Regions from separate parts of the Homo sapiens genome. Here region 2 is linked to region 1. Evidence: promoter capture Hi-C in human tissues and cell types (Jung and others, 2019). All regions are on one chromosome and are shown on one strand. Each heading gives the region's core, a stretch centred on a gene start or on the middle of the fragment in contact. The rest is flanking DNA. Distances are from core to core; before and after follow the strand shown.

Region 1 (6,582 bases), core at 223-2,722:
GCATGTGCCACCACACCCGGCTAATTTTGAATTTTTAGTAGAGACAGGGTTTCTGCATGTTGGTCAGGCTGGTCTCGAACTCCCGACCTAAGGTGATCCACCTGCCTCAGCCTCCCAAAGTGCTGGGATGACAGGCCTGAGCCACCGTGTCTGGCCAGTATTTGGTTTTCTGTTTCTGTGTTAACTCGCTTAGGATAATGGCCTCTAGCTGCATCCATGTTGCTGCAAAGGACATAATCTTGTGATTTTTCAAGGCTGTATAGCGTTCTGTGGTGTATACATATCACATTGTCTTTATCCAGTCCACCTCTGATGGGACCTGGGTGGATTCCATGTCTTCACTATTGTGAATCCTGCTGCAATGAACATACAAGTGCATGTGTCTTTTTGGTAGAATGATTTATTTTCCTTTGGCTATATACCCAGCGATGGGATTGCTGGGCTGAATGGTAACTCTGTTTGTAGTTCTCTGAAATATCTCCAAACCAAACTGCTTTCCACAGTGGCTGAACTAATTTACACCCACCAACAGTGTATAAGTGTCCCCTTTGCTCCACAATCTCACCAGCATCTGTTAATTTCTGGCTTTTCAGTAATGGCCATTCTGACTGGTGTGAGATGGTATTGTTGAGGGATAATTTAGGAATCAGAGAGACCGAGGGGTTGAGGAGGATTTATTATTATTATTATTATTTAGGTGCACCGGCCCCAGTCAGATTAACATCCAAAAAGACTGAGGCTCGAACAGAGAGTCCGGTTACCTTTTAAGCATTTTGTGGGGTTGGGGGAGATCTGTGCAGGGGGAAGCATATTACAGAAGCAAGAAACAAAGGCAGTTATTCAATTGAGACATGCATCACATTATTCCTTACTTTTCAAGAAAAATATGTTTTACGACTTGAGGTTATCCTGTCTAGTGACCTTGCAGCCGCACGGCAAGAGAAACAGGGTCTTCACAATGCCTGGGAAAGGGAGAGATAAGGCTCACTAGCCACAGACAGAAAAACAGGCAGTTCATGTTTAAAGGACTCCACCTCTTTCTCTTCCTCGGGGGGAACTGGGTTTTCTTAAATACAACTGAGTTTTTGTTTACACATTCTGTAATTTCTTTTAATTCCTGTTCCAGTATCTCACTGTGAAACTCCCTATGTTTTTATACGATTCTCAGGGGGTTTCCTCTGGGCATGATTGGGCACAACTTCCCACAGTCAGCTCTGGGTACGACCTCCACATTGCAGAATTGAGAAGTTGACCCAGAAATGCATTTTGGGCTGAGCAGACAATTGTCAGAGTTGCTGGCTAGACCACAGATGTGTCAGAGGGACCACGGCCTTTCTGTAAGCTCATGGTCAGAGGCGGAGGGGAGTTGTGAACGTTCTGATGAAAGCAGTCAACGTGAAAGCGCTCTGGTGATGGGCGCTGGTGCTCACCCACCACTTCCTGTGTATCTATCTCCCTGGCCCGCCCGGCTCAGTCCCCACTGCTCAGCACTAGGCCGGCAGAATCTGAGCGATGTCTTCCACACTCCCTGCCCTGCTCTGCGTCGGTGAGTTCTGGCGTGGAAGGGGAATGGGATCACGGTGTGCCTGGGAGGCAACAGGTCTCATTACTCCCGTCTTCCAGGGCTGTGTCTGAGTCAGAGGATCAGCGCCCAGCAGCGTGAGTCCTTCCTTCAAAGCCCAGGGTCACTCTTCCGGATTCAGGCCAAGCTCCTTCCACCCAAGCACGGCTGGGGTGAGGGGACAGGGTGCTGGCTTCCCAGGAGAGCTTGGGGCCAGCAGCTGGGTGGAGCCTAAGGTTGGGGGGAGGGGGCTCCGCTGGAACTCCAGCCTCTGATTCCCTTCCAGAGACTCTCCCAAAACCGTTCATCTGGGCCGAGCCCCATTTCATGGTTCCAAAGGAAAAGCAAGTGACCATCTGTTGCCAGGGAAATTATGGGGCTGTTGAATACCAGCTGCACTTTGAAGGAAGCCTTTTTGCCGTGGACAGACCAAAACCCCCTGAGCGGATTAACAAAGTCCAATTCTACATCCCGGACATGAACTCCCGCATGGCAGGGCAATACAGCTGCATCTATCGGGTTGGGGAGCTCTGGTCAGAGCCCAGCAACTTGCTGGATCTGGTGGTAACAGGTAACTGTCCGGTTCTCTAACTGGAGAGTGATCTCAGTCTGCATCCGGGATGCAGCATCATCTATGAACTCTTCCAAGCCCCACTCAGACACTGCTTGTCTCGGTAGGAGGCTGGAAGGAGGGGTGATCCCCATCACAATCCTTGCCTACAAGGGGTTGTCTGCAGACCGTGTCTCTACGTCCTAGGAGCAGATGTGTCCTCAGTCAGTTTCTCCATGACACAGATTCTGAGATAGATATTTGTATGCAGGGGTATGACTGAGGAATGTCCTCAAAAACAATGCCTGTGGGCCAGGCGCAGTGGCTTACACTTTGCTTCCCTCACCCATCACAGGTGGTGGGTTTTTTTTTTTTTTATCTGTTTTGAGACGGAGTTTCGCTCTTGTCACCCAGGCTGGAGTGCAGTGGTGCAATCTCCAGTCACTGCAACCTCCACCTCCTGGGTTCAAGTGATTCTCCAGCCTCAGCTTCCCAAGTAGCTGGGATCACAGGCACCCACCACTACGCCACATTTTGTATTTTTAGTAGAGATGGGGTTTCACCATGTTGGCCAGGGTGGTGTCGAACTCCTGACCTCAGATGATCCGCCCGCCTCACCCTCCCAAAGTGCTGGGATTACAGGTGTGAGCCATCACACCCAGCCAGGTGGTGGTTTTCTAAAAAAAAAAAAAAATTAGCTTTTTTTTTTTTTTAACAATATGGTTGTTTATTATTATTATCAAGTATTATACATAGTTACATATACATACATAATTGTATGTGCTATACAATTAGGTTTGTTTATACCAGCAACACCAAAAACACATGAGCAATACTTTGTGCTAGGAAGGCTATGATGTCATCAGGCAATAGGAATTTTTCAGTTTCATTATAATCTTATGGGACCACCATCATATATGTGGTACATTGTTGGCCAAAATGTCATTATGCAGCTCACAACAGTATTTCATGTCCATTCAAATATCTTCTTTTGTGAAATGTCTATTTAAATCTTTTGCCTATTTTTAAATTGGGTTGCTTATATTTTGATTGATTAGGAAAAGTTATTTCTATATTCTGTGTCATATACTTGTGTTGAAATATATATATTTTTTGTCTGTGCCTTTTCATTTGCTCAGGGTCTTTGGACCTTGTTTGGAGGTTCTGGCAGGGGAACACAGCTACTCATTTATTCTTTTTTTTTTAATTTTTTTAGTATTTATTGATCATTCTTGGGTGTTTCTCGGAGAGGGGGATTTGGCAGGGTCATAGGACAATAGTGGAGAGAAGGTCAGCAGATAAACATGTGAACAAAGGTCTCTGGCTTTCCTAGGCAGAGGTCCCTGCGGCCTTCCGCAGTGTTTGTGTCCCTGGGTACTTGAGATTAGGGAGTGGTGATGACTCTTAAGGAGCATGCTGCCTTCAAGCATCTGTTTAACAAAGCACATCTTGCACCGCCCTTAATCCATTTAACCCTGAGTGGACACAGCACATGTTTCAGAGAGCACGGGGTTGGGGGTAAGGTCATAGATTAACAGCATCCCAAAGCAGAAGAATTTGTCTTAGTACAGAACAAAATGGAGTCTCCTATGTCTACTTCTTTCTACACAGACACAGTAACAATCTGATCTCTCTTTCTTTTCCCCACATTTCCCCTTTTTCTATTCGACAAAACCGCCATCGTCATCATGGCCCGTTCTCAATGAGCTGTTGGGTACACCTCCCAGACGGGGTGGCGGCCGGGCAGAGGGGCTCCTCACTTCCCAGACGGGGCGGCCGGGCAGAGGCGCCCCCCCACCTCCCAGACGGGGCAGTGGCCGGGCGGGGGCTGCCCCCCAACCTCCCGGACGGGGCGGCTGGCCGGGGCTTTTTTTTTTTTTTTTGAGACAGTCTCGCTGCAGTGCAGTGGTACAATCTCAGCTCACTGCAACCTCTGCCTCAGCCTCAATTCTCCTGCCTCAGCCTCCCAAGTAGTTGAGATTACAGGCATGTGCCACCACACCCGGCTAATTTTTGCATTTTTAGTAGAGACGGGGTTTCACCATGTTGACCAGGCTGGTCTCAAACTCCTGACCCAGGAGGTCGAGGCTTCAGTAAGCAAAGATAGTGCCACGGCGCTCCAGCCTGGGAAACAGAGCAAGACCCTGTATCATTTTTAAAAATGGTTTTAGACGGTAAATCTTCTATTGTGTGTATTTGACCAAAATAATAATTAAAAAAAAAAAAAAAAGCTGGCTGCCAGGCATGGTGGCAGGCCCCTGTAGTCCCAGCTACTTGGGAGGGTGAGGCAGGAGAAACGCTTGAACCCGGGAGGCGGAGGTTGCAGTGAGCCAAGATCGTGTCACTGCACTCCAGCCTGGGCGACAGAGAGAGACTCCATCTCTAAAGAAAGAAAAAAAAAAATAGCTGGCTGCTCATCACTGAGTTTCTGGTGTGGTGGCCCCACCTTCTCTCATAGAAATGTATGACACACCCACCCTCTCGGTTCATCCTGGACCCGAAGTGATCTCGGGAGAGAAGGTGACCTTCTACTGCCGTCTAGACACTGCAACAAGCATGTTCTTACTGCTCAAGGAGGGAAGATCCAGCCACGTACAGCGCGGATACGGGAAGGTCCAGGCGGAGTTCCCCCTGGGCCCTGTGACCACAGCCCACAGAGGGACATACCGATGTTTTGGCTCCTATAACAACCATGCCTGGTCTTTCCCCAGTGAGCCAGTGAAGCTCCTGGTCACAGGTGAGGAAATGCTCAATTCCCCACACCCTTCGCCGCCATGTGCTACCTGGAGCCCTGAGGGATCCCCAGAGAGTGATGGGGAGGGTGTCCAAGGGACGTCCACTTCCTGGGTGCCTGGTTGGTCATGTGAGGAAGAACACCAGAAGCAGGAAGGAGGAGGGAACAGAGAAAGGAATGGTAAGGCGGGTGGATCACAAGGTCAGGAGTTCGAGACCAGCCTGGCCAAGACGGTGAAACCCCGTCTCTACTAAAAATACAGAAATTAGCCAGACGCAGTGGCGGACACCTGTAGTCCCAGCTACTCAGGAGGCTGAGGCAGGAGAATCGCTTGAACCCGGGAGGCGGGGGTTGTAGTGAACCGAGATCATACCACCGCACTGCAACCTGGGCGACAGAGCAAGACTCCATCTCAAAAAAAAAAAAAAAAAAAAAAGAATGGCAAGACCGGAGGAAACCAAAAACCCTTACTTTTTTTTCTTTATCTCCTTTTCCAGGCGACATTGAGAACACCAGCCTTGCACCTGAAGACCCCACCTTTCCTGGTGAGTAACTGGTCCTTCTAAGCTCAGACGAGCGATCAGAGCCTCCCAGTGACACTAAAAACGTGGCATTCATTCAAAATATTCATCGAGGCCAGGCGTGGTGGCTCACGCCTGTAATCCCAGCACTTTGGGAGGCCGAGATGGTGCATCATTTGAGGTCAGGAGTTTGAGACCAGCCTGGCCAACATGGCGAAACCCTGTCTCTACTAAAAATACAAAACTTAGGCTGGGCATCATGGCTCACACCTGTAATCCCAACACTTCGGGAGGCCAAGGTGGTTGGATCACAAGGTCAGGAATTCGAGACCAGCCTGACCAACATGGTGAAACCCCATCTCTACTAAAAATACAAAAATTAGCCGGGCCTGGTGGTGCTCGCCTGTAATCCCAGCTACTCAGGAGGCTGAGGCAGGAGAATTGTTGAACCTGGGATGCAGAGGTTGCAGTGAGCTGAGATCGCGCCACTGCATTCCACTCCACTGCACGACACAGCGAGACTCCATCTCACAGAAAAACAAAAACAAAACTATTATATATATATATTCATCAAGTGCATAGTATACACAGTGAACTACACTGTAACAGTCAGCCAGGCAGATATCTTGACTGTGCAGCACTTAGATTCTAGCAGGAGGAGACACACCATCGGTCAACGTCAGGATAGCACACAGGAGGGAATGATGCTATGGAAGGAAAAGACAAAGTAGAACAGACTTACAGTGATTGAAATGGCAGCTAGCAATATTAAATAGGTTTGTCCAGATGGACCTCACAGAGAAAGAAGGCATCTGAGCAAATGCGTTCAGACTTGAGTTAATCATGTGGCTGTCAGGAGAAAGGAGGCTCTGGAGAGAATGAAATGGCATCTGCCTGTGCCCTGGGGCAGGAAGATAACTGGGGTAATACAATAATAACTATGAGGCCAGGAGGGTTGAAAATGATGTTTGGAAGATGACGGTGGGATGGGCCTGGGGCGCACGGCTAGGATTACAGGAGTGAGGCCCGGCGCGGTGGCTCACGCCTGTAATCCCAGCACTTTGGGAAACCGAGGCAGGTGGATCATGAGGTCAGGAGATCAAGACCATCCTGGCTAACACGGTGAAACCCTGTCTCTACTAAAAAAAAATACAAAAATTATCCGGGCGTGGTGGCGGGCGCCTGTAGTCCCAGCTACGCAAGAGGCTGAGGCAGG
Region 2 (4,620 bases), core at 586-3,085, 79 kb after region 1:
TAGGAAGAGGCCAGAGCCTCCTATGCACTGTGGCTTAGGGTCAGGAATTCCCTCTTGTTGGACTCTTTGTTTGTTTTTGTTTTGAGATGGAGTCTTGCTCTGTCGCTCAGGCTGGAGCGCAGTGGCGCGATCTTGGCTCCCTGCAACCTCCGCCTCCCGGGTTCAAGTGATTCTTCTGCCTCAGCCTCCTGAGTAGCTGGGACTACAGGCGCCTGCCACCTTGCCCGGCTAATTTTTATATTTTCATTAGAGACGGGATCTCAGCATGTTGGCCAGTCTGGTCTTGAACTCCGCCTGACCTCAGGTGATCCACCTGCCTCAGCCTCCAAAGTGGGATTACAGGCATGATTCACCATGCCCGGCCCAAATATATTTTTTTAAGACAGGGTCTTGCTGTGTTGCTCAGGCTGGAGTACAGTGGTGAAATCAGCTCACTGCATCCTCAAACTTCTGGGTTCAAGTGATGTTCCTGAGTACCTGGGATGACAGGTATTAAGTGTGCACCATCATGTCCAGCTAACTTAAGTGGGGGTTTTTTTTTGTGTTTTTTTTTTTTTTTTTTTTTTTGGAAAGACAAAATCTCACTATGTTGTCCAGGCTGGTCTTGAACTCCCAAAGCACTGAGATTACAGGCATGAGTTACCACACGCCCTGCCTGAATATTTCTTATTGATATGTATAGATATGTATATTCCCAATCTTTTTTTTTTTTTTTGAGACGGAGTTTCACTCTTTTTCCCAGGTCGGAGTGAAGTGGCTCGATCTCGGCTCACTGCAACCTCCGCCCCACCAGGTTCAATGATTCTCCTGCCTCAGCCTCATGAGTAGCTGGGATTACAGCCACCCACGACCATGCCCAGCTAATTTTTGTACTTTTAGTAGAGACGGGGTTTCACCATGTTGGCCAGGCAGGTCTCGAACTCCCGACCTCAGGTGATCCACCCGCCTCAGCCTCACAAAGTGCTAGGATTATAGGCGTGAGTCACCGTGCCCGGTCTATATTCTCTATCTTTTATCAATGATGTGCTTAGCATTTTAACTTATTTTTACCCTCTATTGGATTTTTGTCTAAGAAGAATAGGTTCTTTCTCCTGTGATGCTTCTTGGGTGTTGAGTTGTCTGATGGTGGTGCTAATAAGTGATTACATGGTCCAGCTTTCAATTGTACTCATTTGTCAGGGGTATATGCCCAGAGAAACCCTAAATACTTCAGCCGTGATGGACACACATTTGGTGTAACCCTTTCTTCTCTTCCCTATAGATCCCAGGATGATCAGCACATGCTTCCTTTCTGGACGGACCTTTGTTCCATATTTGGATCAAATAAGGATCTGATGGGTCTAGCAATCAATGATAGCTTTCTCAGTGCCTCCCTAGTAAGGATCCTGTGTGAACAAATAGCCTCTGACACCTGTCATCTCCAGAGAGTGGTGTAAGTAGAAACTAATTCATGAACTCAAATCCTTAGGGTATGAAAATGGTACAATGTTAACATCGGAGCAATATTCAGATTCCTGTACTAGACTCTTAAGTGCTCGAGACACAGGGAATTGAGAGAGTCCTGTCCTTAAATTTATTTTGTGGGATAATCGTATAAAGTAATTTCTAGGGGCTGGGCATGGTGGTTCACACTTGTAATTCCAACACTTCGGGAGGCCGAGGCAGACAGATCACTTGAGGTCAGGAGTTCGAGACCAGCCTGGCCAACGTGACAAAACCCTGCCTCTACTAAAAATACAAAAATTATCCAGGCGTGGTGGCAGGCACCTGTAATATCAGCTACTTGGGAGGCTGAGGCAGGAGAATTACTTGAACCCAGGAGGCGGAGGTTGCAGTGAACCAAGATCCTGCCACTGGACTCCAGTCTGAGTGACAGAGCGAGACTGCGTCTCAAAAAAAAAAAAAAAAAAAAAGAAAAAGAAAAAAAGGGCCGGGCACAATGGCTCACGCCTGTAGTCCCAGCACTTTGGGGGCCCAAGGTGGGGGGATCACTTGAGGTCAGGAGTTCAAGACCAGCCTGGCCAAGATGGTGCAAGACCCTGTCTCTACGAAAAATACAAAAATTTGCCAGGTGTCGTGGCAGGTGCCTATAATCCCAGCTACTCCGGATGCTGAGGGTAGGAGTCGCTTGAATCCGGGAGGCAGAGTTTGCTTTGCAGTGAGCCGAGATCGCGCCACTGCACTCCAGCCTGGGCAACAGAGTGAGACTCCATCTCAAAGAAAAAAAAAATCTGTAAAGATGGACAAAAATTTAAACATGGAAAAAATAGTTCCTAAAGTTTAAATATATCGAGCCCCTGGTTTCCATTTAAGTACGATACAGGTGTACACACTAAAGATTTCACTTTCGTTCTCTTTTCCCTAGGTTCAAAAACATTTCCCCAGCTGATGCTCATCGGAACCTCTGCCTAGCTCTTCGAGGTCACAAGACTGTAACGTATCTGACCCTTCAAGGCAATGACCAGGATGATATGTTTCCCGCATTGTGTGAGGTCTTGAGACATCCAGAATGTAACCTGCGATATCTCGGGTATATCTCTTAATCATTAAAATCCTTCATCATACAAACATAAGCTACCACAAGCTTATGTGGCAATTTTGTGTAAATAAGAAAAAGTTCGTTATTCTGACTAGAAACAGTACTAAGGGCAGATGACCCAGGATGCAGCATGGGCTGAACTTGAGTTTCTACTTGCCTTGAACAGTAAACACCCTGGACAACCATACGTGAGGACCCTGAATCCAAAGAAACTCCCAGAATCTTTATCATCTTTTTTTTTTTTTTTATGAAGTCTTGCTCTGTTGCCCAGGCCAAAGTGCAATGGCACGATCTTGGCTCACTGCAACCTCTGTCTCCTGGGTTCAAGTAATTCTGCTGCCTCAGCCTCCCAAGTTGCTGGGATTACAGGCACCCGCCACCACGCCCGGCTAATTTTTGTGCATTTAGTGGAGCTGGTTTCGCCACATTGCCAGGCTGGTCTCGAACTCATGACCTCAGGTGACCTGCCCTCCTCAGGCTCCCAAAGTGCTGGGATTATAGGCATGAGCCACCATGCCCAGCCAGAGTCCTTATGTTTTGGTTTTGGTTTTGGTTTTTTCTTTTTCTTTTTTCTTTTTGAGATGGAGTCTCGCTCTGTCACCCAGGCTGGAGTGCGTTGGTATGATCTCAGGTCACTGCAGCCTCCACCTCCCAGGTTCAAGTGATTCTCCTGCCTCAGCCTCCTGAGTAGCTGGGATTACAGGTGCACACCACCACACCTGGTTAATTTTTGTATTATTAGTAGAGATGGAGTTTTACCACATTGGCCAGGCTGGTCTCGAACTCATGACCTCAGGTGATCTACCCCCCCACCCCCACCCCACCCCGCCGTCGGCCTCCCAAAGTGAGGCATGAGCCACCGTGCCCAGCCCAGAATCTTTATCTTCTATCAGAGATCATTCACTCATGGTTCATGCTTCTCCTGTATGATGATTCAGAATACCAGCTATTGACATTTTTCAAGCAAGAACCCTTCAGGAACATCAAGTTGCCCCTTTTCTGTTAGTCCTCTGGTTTGAGAGCTCTCCCCTTGGGAAGCTGTCCAGTGGCTGCCCAGGCGATGAGAACCTACATGCATCATGGGGTTCCATGAAGCCTCACTTGGCCACACTGGTGTAGTAGGTGGTCATTGGCCTCAAATTATTGCCCTGGGCCAGGCGCAGTGGCTCACGCCTGGGAGGCCGAGGTGGGTGGATCACTTGAGGTCAGGAGTTCAAGACCGGCCTGGTCAACATGGTGAAACTCTGTCTCTACTAATAATACAAAAATTAGCTGGGCATGTTGGCGCACGCCTGTAGTCCCAGCTACTCAGGAGGCTGAGGCAGGAGCATCATTTGAACCTGAGAGGCGGAGGTTGCAGTGAGCTGAGATCACACCACCGCACTCCAGTCTGGGCAACAGTGTGAGACTGTCTCAAAAAAAAAAAAAAAAATCTTGGCTGGGTGCGGTAGCTCATGCCTGTAATCCCAGCACTTTGGGAGGCCAAGGCAGGTGGATCACAAGGTCAGGAGTTCAAGACCAGCCTGGCCAACATGGTGAAACCCCACGTCTACTAAAAATACAAAAACATTAGCTGGGCATGGTGGCGCGTGCCTGTAATCCCAGCTACTCATGGAGGCTGATGCAAGAGAATTGCTTGAACCTAGGAGGCAGAGGTAGCAGTGAGCCAAGATCACGCCATTGCACTCCAGCCTGGGCAACAGAGCAAAACTCCATCTCGAGGACAGAAAAAAAATTGATTGCTCTGGCTCTACTGATACAATCTTAGGCTGCTTAATGGGATCTTAGTTGAATAGGATGCTGTACATCTTACAGGTATTGGAAGGTTGAATGAAACCAAGCCCATGCATTCAATAGTGGCTGCTATCATTACTAACCGTTGCAATTACCCTCTTTTCTTTTTGCCTGAGAATAATGGGATGCAGGGTGAGGGGGAATATTGGGTGAATTAAAGATTTGGGTCACTAATTTCTTTCTTTTTTTCTCAAGATATAGTCTTGCTCTGTCTCCTAGGCTGGAGTGCAGTGCCACAATCTTGGTTCACTGCAACCTCTGCCTCCCGGGTTCAAGTGATTCTTCTC

The links. Contacts are between HindIII fragments. The study calls those that stand out against the background at their distance.
Region 2: a contact is called between a fragment that was not itself captured here and the fragment with the promoter of NCR1 in region 1, in 2 of the 25 tissues and cell types used here (mesenchymal stem cells and pancreas).

The regions. Positions count from the first base shown.
Region 1 is chr19:54,904,676-54,911,257 of GRCh38, forward strand. NCR1 (natural cytotoxicity triggering receptor 1) reads left to right here and starts at 1,473. Exons shown (of 7, transcript NM_004829.7): 1 at 1,473-1,546; 2 at 1,624-1,659; 3 at 1,848-2,132; 4 at 4,570-4,848; 5 at 5,343-5,390. The coding sequence starts at 1,513. The HindIII fragment of the contact is 21,719 bases long and covers 1-6,582 here.
Region 2 is chr19:54,983,786-54,988,405 of GRCh38, forward strand. It overlaps NLRP2 (NLR family pyrin domain containing 2), which reads left to right. Exons shown (of 13, transcript NM_017852.5): 7 at 1,262-1,432; 8 at 2,366-2,530. Among named protein-coding and RNA genes, the nearest start is that of NLRP2, 20 kb to the left of the region's middle. The HindIII fragment of the contact is 9,446 bases long and covers 1-4,620 here.